3 separate regions of the Homo sapiens genome follow, and regions 1 and 3 are each linked to region 2. Evidence: promoter capture Hi-C in human tissues and cell types (Jung and others, 2019). All regions are on one chromosome and are shown on one strand. The core of a region is centred on a gene start or on the middle of the fragment in contact, and the rest is flanking DNA. Distances in the headings are between cores, read along the strand shown.

Evidence for each region. Contacts are between HindIII fragments. The study calls those that stand out against the background at their distance.
Region 1: a contact is called between a fragment that was not itself captured here and the fragment with the promoter of NWD1 in region 2, in 7 of the 25 tissues and cell types used here (IMR-90 fibroblasts, bladder, dorsolateral prefrontal cortex and 4 more).
Region 3: a fragment that was not itself captured here is called in contact with the fragment with the promoter of NWD1 in region 2 in 1 of the 25 tissues and cell types used here (mesenchymal stem cells).

What each region holds. Positions count from the first base shown.
Region 1 is chr19:17,167,279-17,170,429 of GRCh38, forward strand. It overlaps MYO9B (myosin IXB), which reads left to right. Exons shown (of 40, transcript NM_004145.4): 11 at 665-786. Among named protein-coding and RNA genes, the nearest start is that of USE1, 47 kb to the right of the region's middle. The HindIII fragment of the contact is 6,459 bases long and covers 1-3,151 here.
Region 2 is chr19:16,717,916-16,721,132 of GRCh38, forward strand. It overlaps NWD1 (NACHT and WD repeat domain containing 1), which reads left to right and starts at 1,932. Exons shown (of 19, transcript NM_001007525.5): 1 at 1,932-2,378. The HindIII fragment of the contact is 25,691 bases long and covers 1-3,217 here.
Region 3 is chr19:17,078,528-17,081,733 of GRCh38, forward strand. All of the region lies in intron 1 of MYO9B (myosin IXB), which reads left to right. Among named protein-coding and RNA genes, the nearest start is that of MYO9B, 4.4 kb to the left of the region's middle. RefSeq lists a silencer at 1,120-1,219 and an enhancer at 1,232-1,769. The HindIII fragment of the contact is 3,543 bases long and covers 1-3,206 here.

The DNA.
Region 1 (3,151 bases), core at 53-2,552, 450 kb after region 2:
AGCCTCAGTAAAGTATTTTTTACTTTTTATTTTTTGCACAGACAGGATCTTGCTATGTTGTCCAGGCTGGTCTTGAACTCCTGGCCTCAAGCGATCCTACCACCTTGGCCTCTCAGTTACTTTTTATGTCAGTTACATGTTAACATGATCACATTTTGGATATATCATGTTAAATTAAGTGTATTATTAGAGCTATTTTTTTTTTTTTTTTTTTGTGACGGAGTTTCGCTCTTGTTGCCCAGGCTGGAGTAGGACTAATGGCGCAATCTTGGCTCACTGCAACCTCCACTTCCCGTGTTCAAGCGATTTTCCTGCCTCAGCCTCCTGAGTAGCTGGGATTACAGGCTTGTGCAACCACGCCTGGCTAATTTTGTATCTTTAGTAGAGATGGGATTTTGCTATGTTGGTCAGGCTGGTCTCAAACTCCTGACCTCAGGTGATCCACCTGCCTTGGCCTCCCAAAGTGCTGGGATTACAGGCGTGAGCCACTGTGCCCAGCCCTATTAGAGTTAATTTTAAGCCACGCATCAGTTTAAAAAGTTTCCTATTTTGAAGCATTTCAGATTTTCGGATTAGGGATACTCGACCTGTATGCAATATATGTTATGTAGATATTACATATCTGGGAGATAAGAAACTTACCGACCCCGCGCCACCCCTGCAGGAGGAATATCAGGGCGAGGGGATCACGTGGCACAACATCGGCTACACAGACAATGTCGGCTGCATCCATCTCATCAGCAAGAAACCCACGGGCCTCTTCTACCTGCTGGACGAGGAGAGCAAGTGAGTGTCCACACCCCGTCCATCCCGGCACATCTACGCATGGGCACTGGGTCAGGTTCTGCAGCCCCCAGAGCCTTACCCCAAATCCAGACTTTCCCAAGAGCGCCTTTTTATTTTTGAGACAGGGTCTCACTCTGTCACCCAGGCTGGAGTGTAGTGGTGCAATCAAAGCTCACTGCAGCCTTGACCTCCTGGGCTCAAGTGATCCCCTGACGTGAGCCTCTGGAGTAGCTGGGACTACAGGGTCACACCACCATACCCGGCTAATTTTTGTATTTCTTTGTAGCAACAGGGTTTCGTCATGTTTTCCAGGCTGGTCTTGAACTCCTTAGCTCAAGGGATCCTCCCGCCTTGGCCTCCGAGAGTACTGGGATTACAGGCGTGTGCCACCACGCCAGACCTTGTGCTGAGAACTTGTGTCTGTTCATTTCACTTGACCACAAAACCCAAGCTCGTGTGTGCAAAATGCACAAACACCTCATTGTGAAAACATCAACACGTGTGATTAATTCGTGCACTTGAGGCACATCCGCCAGGAGTTTTCAGCAAAGGATTATGGGCCTATGCCTAGAAACTAGACACTGGGGCCAGACGTGGTGGGGCATACCTGTGGCCCCAGCTACTCAGGAGGCTGAGACAGGAGGATCACTTGAGCCTGGGAGGTTGAGGCTGCAGGGAGCTGTGATCGTGTCACTGCACTCCAGCCTGGGCAATGGAGCAAGAGACAGGATTGGCGAGTTGTTACAAAGGGCAGTGCAGTGTGTGGAATTGGGACCCAGATGCTGCTGGGCTCTGGTCTCACTTCTGAGCCTTCCTCCCTCATCCCCACAGTCCACAGGGCGCTGTGAAGGCAGACAGGTCAATAAGGCACCTCATTCTGGGTCACCCAGTTGTAGTCACTGAAATCACGTGACACATACCGAACTACTTTCCTGTGGCTCCTCTAAGGAACCGCTACAAGCCAGGTGGGCTCTTGAGCCCAGGAGATCAAGACCAGCCTGGGCAACACAGAAAGATTCCACCTCGGCCAGGCACAGTGGCTCACGCCTGTAATCCCAGCACTTTGGGAGGCCGAGGCAGGCGGATCACCTGAGGTCAGGAGTTGGAGACCAGCCTGGCCAACATGGTGAAGCCCCGTCTCTACTGAAAATACAAAAATTAGCCGGGCATGGTGACAGGCGCCTGTAATCCCAGCTACTCAGGAGGCTGAGGCAGGAAAATTGCTTGAACCTGGGAGGCGGAGGTTGCAGTGAGCGGAGATCACTCCATTGCACTCCAGCCTGGGTGACAGACCAAGACTCTGTCTCAAAAAAAAAAAAAAAAAAAAAGATTCCATCTCTACAAAAAAATTTTTAACCAGCCTGGCCAACATGGCAAAACCCCATCTCTACTAAAAATGCAAAAATTAGCCAGGCATGGTGGCGGGTGCCTATAATTCCAGCTACTTGGGAGGCTGAGGCAGGAGAATTGTTTGAACCCGGGAGGTGGAGTTCTTAAAACCACAGTAATCTATTCTCTTATGGTTCTGGAAGCTGGAAGTCTAAAGTCAAACTGTCAGCAGAGCTGTGCTGCCTCCAGAGGCTCCAAGGGAGGACCCTTTCTTGCCTCCTCCAGCTTCTAGGGGTCCAAGCTTTCCTTGGCTTTTGGCCACATCACTCCAGTCCCTGCCTCCCTCTTCCTCTTCACATGGACTTCTTCCCTCTGTGTCTGCATCATTCATCTCAATCCTGTCTCCTCCTTTTTTTTTTTTTTTTTTTTTTTTTTTTTGAGACAGGCTCTTCTTGCTCTGTTGCCCAGGCTGGAGGGTAGTGGCGCCATCTTGGCTCAAGTTAATTGGCGTCATCTCAGCTCACTGTAACCCCCACCTCCCAGGATCAAGCGATTCTCGTGTCTCAGCCTCCCGAGTAGCTGGGATCACAGGTGCCTTGCCACCATGCCCAGCTAATTTTTGTATTTTTAGTAGAGATGGGGTTTTTTCACCATGTTGGCCAGGCTGCTTAAAAATTTTTTTTTGTAGAGATGGAATCTCCCTGTATTGCCCAGGCTAGTCTTGAACTCCTGGGCTCAAGCAGTCCTCTCACCTTGACCTCCCAAAGTGCTGGGACCATAGGTGTGAGCCATTACACCTGACCCTGTCTTCTGTTTTTAGAAGGACACCATCCATATGGAACTAGGTCCCACGCTAATGACCTCATCTTAACTAATTACATCTCCAAAGACCCTATTTTCCAAATAAGGTCACATTCAAAAGTTGGTGGTATGGGGTTAAGATATGGACATATTGTCTTATCAGCAGCTCTATCAGACCCATCCCTTGCCAATGACATCTCCAAGGGGCTGGCCAGAGACTCAAATGAATGAGGCA
Region 2 (3,217 bases), core at 682-3,181:
TATCTCACTGCAGCCTTGACTTTCTGGGCTCAAGTAATCCTCCCACCTCAACCTCCCGAGTAGTTGGGACTACAGGCACACACCACCACGCCCAGCTAATTTTTTGTTATTGTTGTTGTTGTAGAGATGAGGGTCTCACTATGTTGCCCAGGCTGGTCTTGAACTCCTGGCCTTGAGTGATCCTCCCACCTTGGCTTCCCCAGTAGCTGGGACTACAGGAGCATGCCACTGTGCCTGGCAGCACCTGAAACTTCTTTTTTTTTTTTTTTTGTGAGATGGAGTGTAGTGTGGCTCTGTCGTCCAGGCTGGAGTGCAATGGCGTAATCTCTGCTCACTGCAACCTCTGCCTCCCAGGTTTAAGTGATCCTCCTGCCTCAGCCTCCCAAGTAGCTGGGATTACAGGCACCTGCCACCATGCCTGGCTAATTTTTGTTTTTAGTAGAGATGGGGTCTCACCATATTGGCCAAGCTGGTCTCAAATTCCTGACCTCAGGTGATTTGCCCACCTCGGCCTCCCAAAGTGCTGGGATTACAGGCATGAGCCACCGCGCCTGACCAAGTATCTGAAACTTCTATCCCTGAAAATATAGTAACACTATTATTATTACTTTTTCTTTGAGATGGAGGCTTGCTCTGTCGCCCAGGCTGGAGTGCAGTGGCGCAATCTCGGCTCACTGCAAGCTCCACCTCCCAGGTTCATGCCATTCTCCTGCCTCAGCTTCCTGAGTAGCTGGGACTACAGGTGCAAACCACCACGCCCAGCTAATTTTTTGTTTTTTGTTTTTTGTTTTTTATGTAGAGACAGGGTTTCACCATGTTAGCCAGGATGGTCTTGATCTCCTGACCTCGTGATCTGCCTGCCTTGGCCTCCCAAAGTGCTGGGATTACTGGCGTGAGCCACCATGCCTGGGTGACTTGTGAGTTTTTGAGACAAAGTCTCGCTCTGTCACCCAGGCTGGAGTGCAGTGGTGCGATCTCGGCTCACTGCAAGCTCCACCTCCCGGGTTCATGCCATTCTCCTGCCTCAGCTTCCTGAGTAGCTGGGACTACAGGTGCAAACCACCACGCCCAGCTAATTTTTTGTTTTGTTTTGTTTTGTTTTTTTTGTAGAGACGGGGTTTCACCGTGTTAGCCAGGATGGTCTTGATCTCCTGACCTCGTGATCTGCCTGCCTTGGCCTCCCAAAGTGCTGGGATTACTAGCGTGAGCCACCATGCCCGGGTGATTTGTGAGTTTTTGAGACAAAGTCTTGCTCTGTCGCCCAGGCTGCAGTGCAGTGGCAGGATCTCGGCTCATTGCAACCTCCAACTCCCAGGTTCAAACAATTCTTGTGCCTCAGCCTCCCAAGTAGCTGGGATTACAGGCATGCGTCACCACGCCCAGCTAATTTTTCTATTTTTAGTAGAGATAGGGGTCTCACCATATTGGCCAGTCTGGTCTTGAATGCCTGACCTCAGGTGATCCGCCTGCCTCGGCCTCCCAAAGTGCTGGGATTACAGGCATGAGCCACCGTGCCCGGTCTTGGAGTTTTAATGGTAATTAATCATGGCTAACATCTCACGGGCCCTTCCTGTGATGTAGGTGTAGTGTTAGTCTCACTCTCTATATAAATGCTTTTCATTGTCTCACCAACACAGGAAGTTAGTGAGAAAATTCAAGTGCAGAGTAGTGAAGCGTCACAGGCAAGGGACTTCACCTTTCTGCATCTTGTTTTCTTCATCTGTGAAACAGGATCATAATGTCTGTCTCTTGGGGTAATAATGTGGACTGCTAATGCCAAATGCCAACCAACTGCACCTCCTAGACTGTCAGCAAATGGCATCTTTTACGAGGAGCCGTATCAGCCTGGCACACAATAGTTAACCACTAAGTCTGGGCTGAATGCCCGGCTAAGCTGGTGCCCTAGTGCAAACAATCGCTTTCATTATCCCAGTTGCTGGGAGAATTGGGCAAGGAGAGACCCATAAAATACCTAAGACGAAAGTTACTAGGATAGCCAGGGGCTTGTCTTCCGGGTGGCGCCGAGGCCAGGAAACTGTCCTCTCTAACCTATTTCCCCAGAGGAGTCTAAATTGGTCGTTCAACTACCAGCAAAGGCTAAAGAGAGGCTGGAGCCCCCAGGACAGCCAGAACGCTGACACTGCAAAGGGCCTCTGTCCTTACTGGGGAAGCCCAGTCCTGCTCAGCTGTCTTCTTCAGCAACAAACAGAAGTCCAGAAAGAGAAACAGTTGTGGAGGAAGCTGTTGTGATGATAATTTACTGAGCACCTACTATGTGCCAGGCACGCCAGCCTTACCAGACAAGATCCTTGGGCTCATGGAATTCACTTTCTCGTGGGACAGACAAACAATAACATGTAGAAACATATCAGCTGTTGGTGAGTACCATGCAGAAAATTAAAATAAGGCGATGGCATTGGGAGTGACTTAAGGGGTCACTACGCAATGGGATGGTCAGAGACAGCCTCTCAGGAGGAGGTAGCATTGAAGCTAAAATGTGAACAACATGAACAGATGCAGCATAGAGCACTAAAGTACAGGACGTGCAAAGGCCCTGAGGTTGAAATAAGCTAAATGCATTAGACTAGGGGGTTCTCGAGTAAGGGGAATTCTGCCCCCTAGGGGACATTGCAATGTCTAGGGAGACTTTTTTTTTTTTGAGACGGAGTCTCGCTCTGTCACTAGGCTGGAGTGCAGTGGCGTGATCTCAGTTACTGCAAGCTCTGCCTCCCAGGTTCACACCATTCTCCTGCCTCAGCCTCCTGAGTAGCTGGGACTACAGGTGTCCGCCACATGCCCGGCTAATTTTTTGTATTTTTAGTAGAGACGGGGTTTCACCGTGTTAGCCAGGATGGTCTCGATCTCCTGACCTCATGATCTGCCCTCCTCGGCTTCCCAAAGTGCTGGGATTACAGGCGTGAGCCACCGCACCTGGCCGAGACTTTTTCTTTTTGAGATGGAGCCTTGCTCTGTTGCCCAGGCTGGAGCGCAGTGGCACGATCTCGGCTCACTGCAACCTCTGCTTCCCGGGTTCAAGCGATTCTCCTGCCTCAGGCTTCCGAGTAGCTGGGATTACAGGTACATGCCACCGCGCCAGCTAATTTTTGTATTTTTAGTAGAGATGGGGTTTCGCCATGTTGGCCAGGCTGGTCTCGAACTCCTGGCCTCAAGTAATCTGCCTGTTTTGGCCTCTCAAAGTGCTGGGATTAGAGGTGTG
Region 3 (3,206 bases), core at 276-2,775, 360 kb after region 2:
AGATGCCCTCAAAAATAATAATAATTAAAAAAAAGAATGGAATTCAGATCAGGTCATCAGTACGGTGACAGAGGGGCCACAAGATATTATGGGGGGAGAATTAGGGACAACCAATGCAAGCTTTAGGACAAGGGGGATTCCAGCAAGTTTCCTCGGAAGTAGTGGCTGGCCCCAGGTCAAACCTGGAAAGATACCACGTGTTAAACCACTCCGGGTGGAAGGGATTGCACAAGCAGATACCTTTGAAGCCCGGCCTGTACAGGGCATCCCAGCTCTCTCATTCTGCCAACCGGCAGTGCGAGGGTCCTTGTTCTTATCTTCCTGATACAGAAACAGGCCCAGGCAGGTGATGACTTCAGAGATGGTTCCTTGAGCTTTCTAGAAACATGCAGGATCCTTAGTAACCTTTAACTGGGGAAACCCAAATCTCCAGGGCCGTTTCTCACCCGCATCACCATTGACAGTTGGGGCTGTGCACTGTAGAATGTGGAATAGTGTCCCTGGCTGTCACCCATGAGATGCCAGTAGTATTCCATCCCCTCCAAGGGGTAACAACTGAAAATGACTCCAGCCATGGCCACGTGTCCCCTGGGGGCAGAATCACCTCCCCCGCCAGGTGAAATGTGATGCTCATTAGTAAAACCTGGTTCCCCTCTAGGGCCCATCATTGCCTTGGTGGGTCCTTGGTGTTTGTGGAGCCCCTGAGGAACTGCCACTAAGAGTGGGAACAGGGGCAGAGACCAGGAACTGAATCCTGCCATCCAGTCAGTTCTTAATCAGGAGGGAGCGGGTCTTGATAAAAAGGAGGAACCGTTAGGAACGGACTGTGGGAGGGTAGGCAACGTGCCCGAGGGTGGACAGCGGGTGCCCTTGTCTTTTCTTTGTCTTGTGACTGACCTGGATTTCTGGAGGAACTGTCCTCGTCTTAGAATGATCTGTTGCTTTTCTTCTGAGATTAGAGGTATTAGATTCTCTCCCAAGAGCTACTTTGGAGGTTGCCCCGGATAAACGTCGCTTTTGTAAGCTGCATTATCTCTTCCATGGGCCCTTTCGCCCGCCCGTTCCCAAGCACATACTGCTGAATTTTTGTTCTTGGTCCATCTTGCTGTCCCCTTCCCTGCTTGGCCCCCTCCTTGACCGTGACTTTGCTGCTTTACCTTGATTGGAGGAGACGCTCTGGGGCCACGGGACTGACGGTCCCTTCTGGGTGCTGCCCCCACACCCCACCCACCAGCCCTTTGTGTGCCCGGCATCCCCAGCCCAGCTGTGCCAGGCTGCCCCTGCTCGGCCGGCCATTCAGACGGCCCCAGGCGGCCTCTCGGCAAAGCAAGACAAGCCCTTCTCTTCTGCCCTCGTGGTCCCTGGAGTGGCAGAACAAAGGGCTCTGTCTCCACACCAGCCCACCGCCGCAGCCCAGAGCCCCGTTCCCTTTCAATTTCTATCGTGGCTGGGAAAGAGCCTCAGAGATTAGGCATGTTTCAGAAATGCAGCTGACGAGTTTGGGTTCTACTCATTTCCTCAGCGAGACTTTCTGAGCCCGAGCCCGATGATAAATAAAGTAGTGATTCAAGGGTTCAGCCCATGGGTTCGTCGGAGTGATGAATAAGATATCCTTGTCTGACTCACTTGTTTAAAACCCATCTCTGCCCTGCTGCACAGGGCTGTATGTGCAAGAGAAGGAGCCCCGCTAGGGGTGTTTCATGACTGTTGTTGCTGGGTGCCTGAGTTTGCTAGGGCTGCTGTAACAGAACCGCACGCTGGGTGGCCAGAACGACAGAAGTATATTGGCTTGCAGTTCTAGAGGCCAGACGTTTAAGATCACATTCAAGATCAAGGTGTTGGCAGGGTTCGTGCCTTCGGAGGGCTGTGAGAATCTGTTCCACGCCTCTCTCTGTTGGCTCATACATAGCCGTCTTCCCCTGGGTCTTCACATCGTCCTCCCTCTGTGCCTGTCTCTGTGTCCAAATTTCCTCTTATGAGGACAGCAGTCATATGGAAGGGGGCCCACCCTAATGACATCATTTTAACTGAATCATCCCCATAAAGACCCTGTCTCTAGGCGAGGCTTGGTGGCACACGCCTGTAATCTCAGCCCTTTGGGAGGCTGAGGCAGGAGGATCACTTGAGGCCAGGAGTTTAAGACCAGCCTGGACAACATAGCAAGATCCCATCTCTACAAAAAAATACTAAAATTAGCTAGACATGATGGTGAATGCCTGTGGTCCCAGCACTTTAAGAAGCTGAGACAGACAGATCGCTTGAGCCTGGGAGTTTGAGGCTACAGTGAGCTATGATCATGGCACTGCATTCCAGCCTGGGTGACAGAACGACACCCCCATCTCTTAAAAAAAAAAAAAATCCCAAATATACTCATACTCTGAAGTTCTGAGGTTTAGGATTTCAATATGTGAATATTTCTTTGTGGAGGGGAGTGGTGGACACAGCTCAGCCCATAATACTGAGAAAAGGACAAATTCAAATTACATTTTTATTTATTTGTTTATTTATTTTGGGGGCGGGGGCAGAGTCTCACTCTGTCACCCAGGCTGGGGTGCAGTGACGCGATCTCAGCTCACTGCAACCTCTGTCTCCCAGGTTCAAGTGATTCTCCTGCCTCAGCCTCCCGAGTAGCTGGGACTACAGGCGTGCGCCACCACGCCCAGCTACTTTTTGTATTTTTAGTAGAGATGGGCTTTCATTGTGTTGACCAGGCTGGTCTTAAACTCCTGACATCAGGTGATCAGCCCGCTCGGACTCCCAAAGTGCTGGGATAACAGATGTGAGCCACCGTGCCCGGCCTCAACTTACATTTTTAGATAATATAGGAACCTGGAGGGAAATGATCGTGTCAATAGAGAATAGGTCCATTTTGTCTCTTCTCACTCCTTTAAATAAACACTTTAAGGGTGAGCAGGTTGGTTGGCCACATCAATTTTGGACGCTCCCTGTTTTCCAGATCTCACACTCATACATTCAGGGGTGACTAAAGAGAGGTGAGAGGCCTGGTGCAGTGGCTTACGCCTGTAATCCCAGCACTTTGGGAGGCCGAGGTGGGAGGATCACCTAAGGTCAGGAGTTTGAGACCAGCCTGGCCAACATGATGAAACCCAGTCTCTACTAAAAATACAAAAATTAGCTGGGTGTAGTGGCACACACCTGTAATCCCAGCTGCTTGGGTGGCTGAGGCAGAAGAATTGCTTGAACCC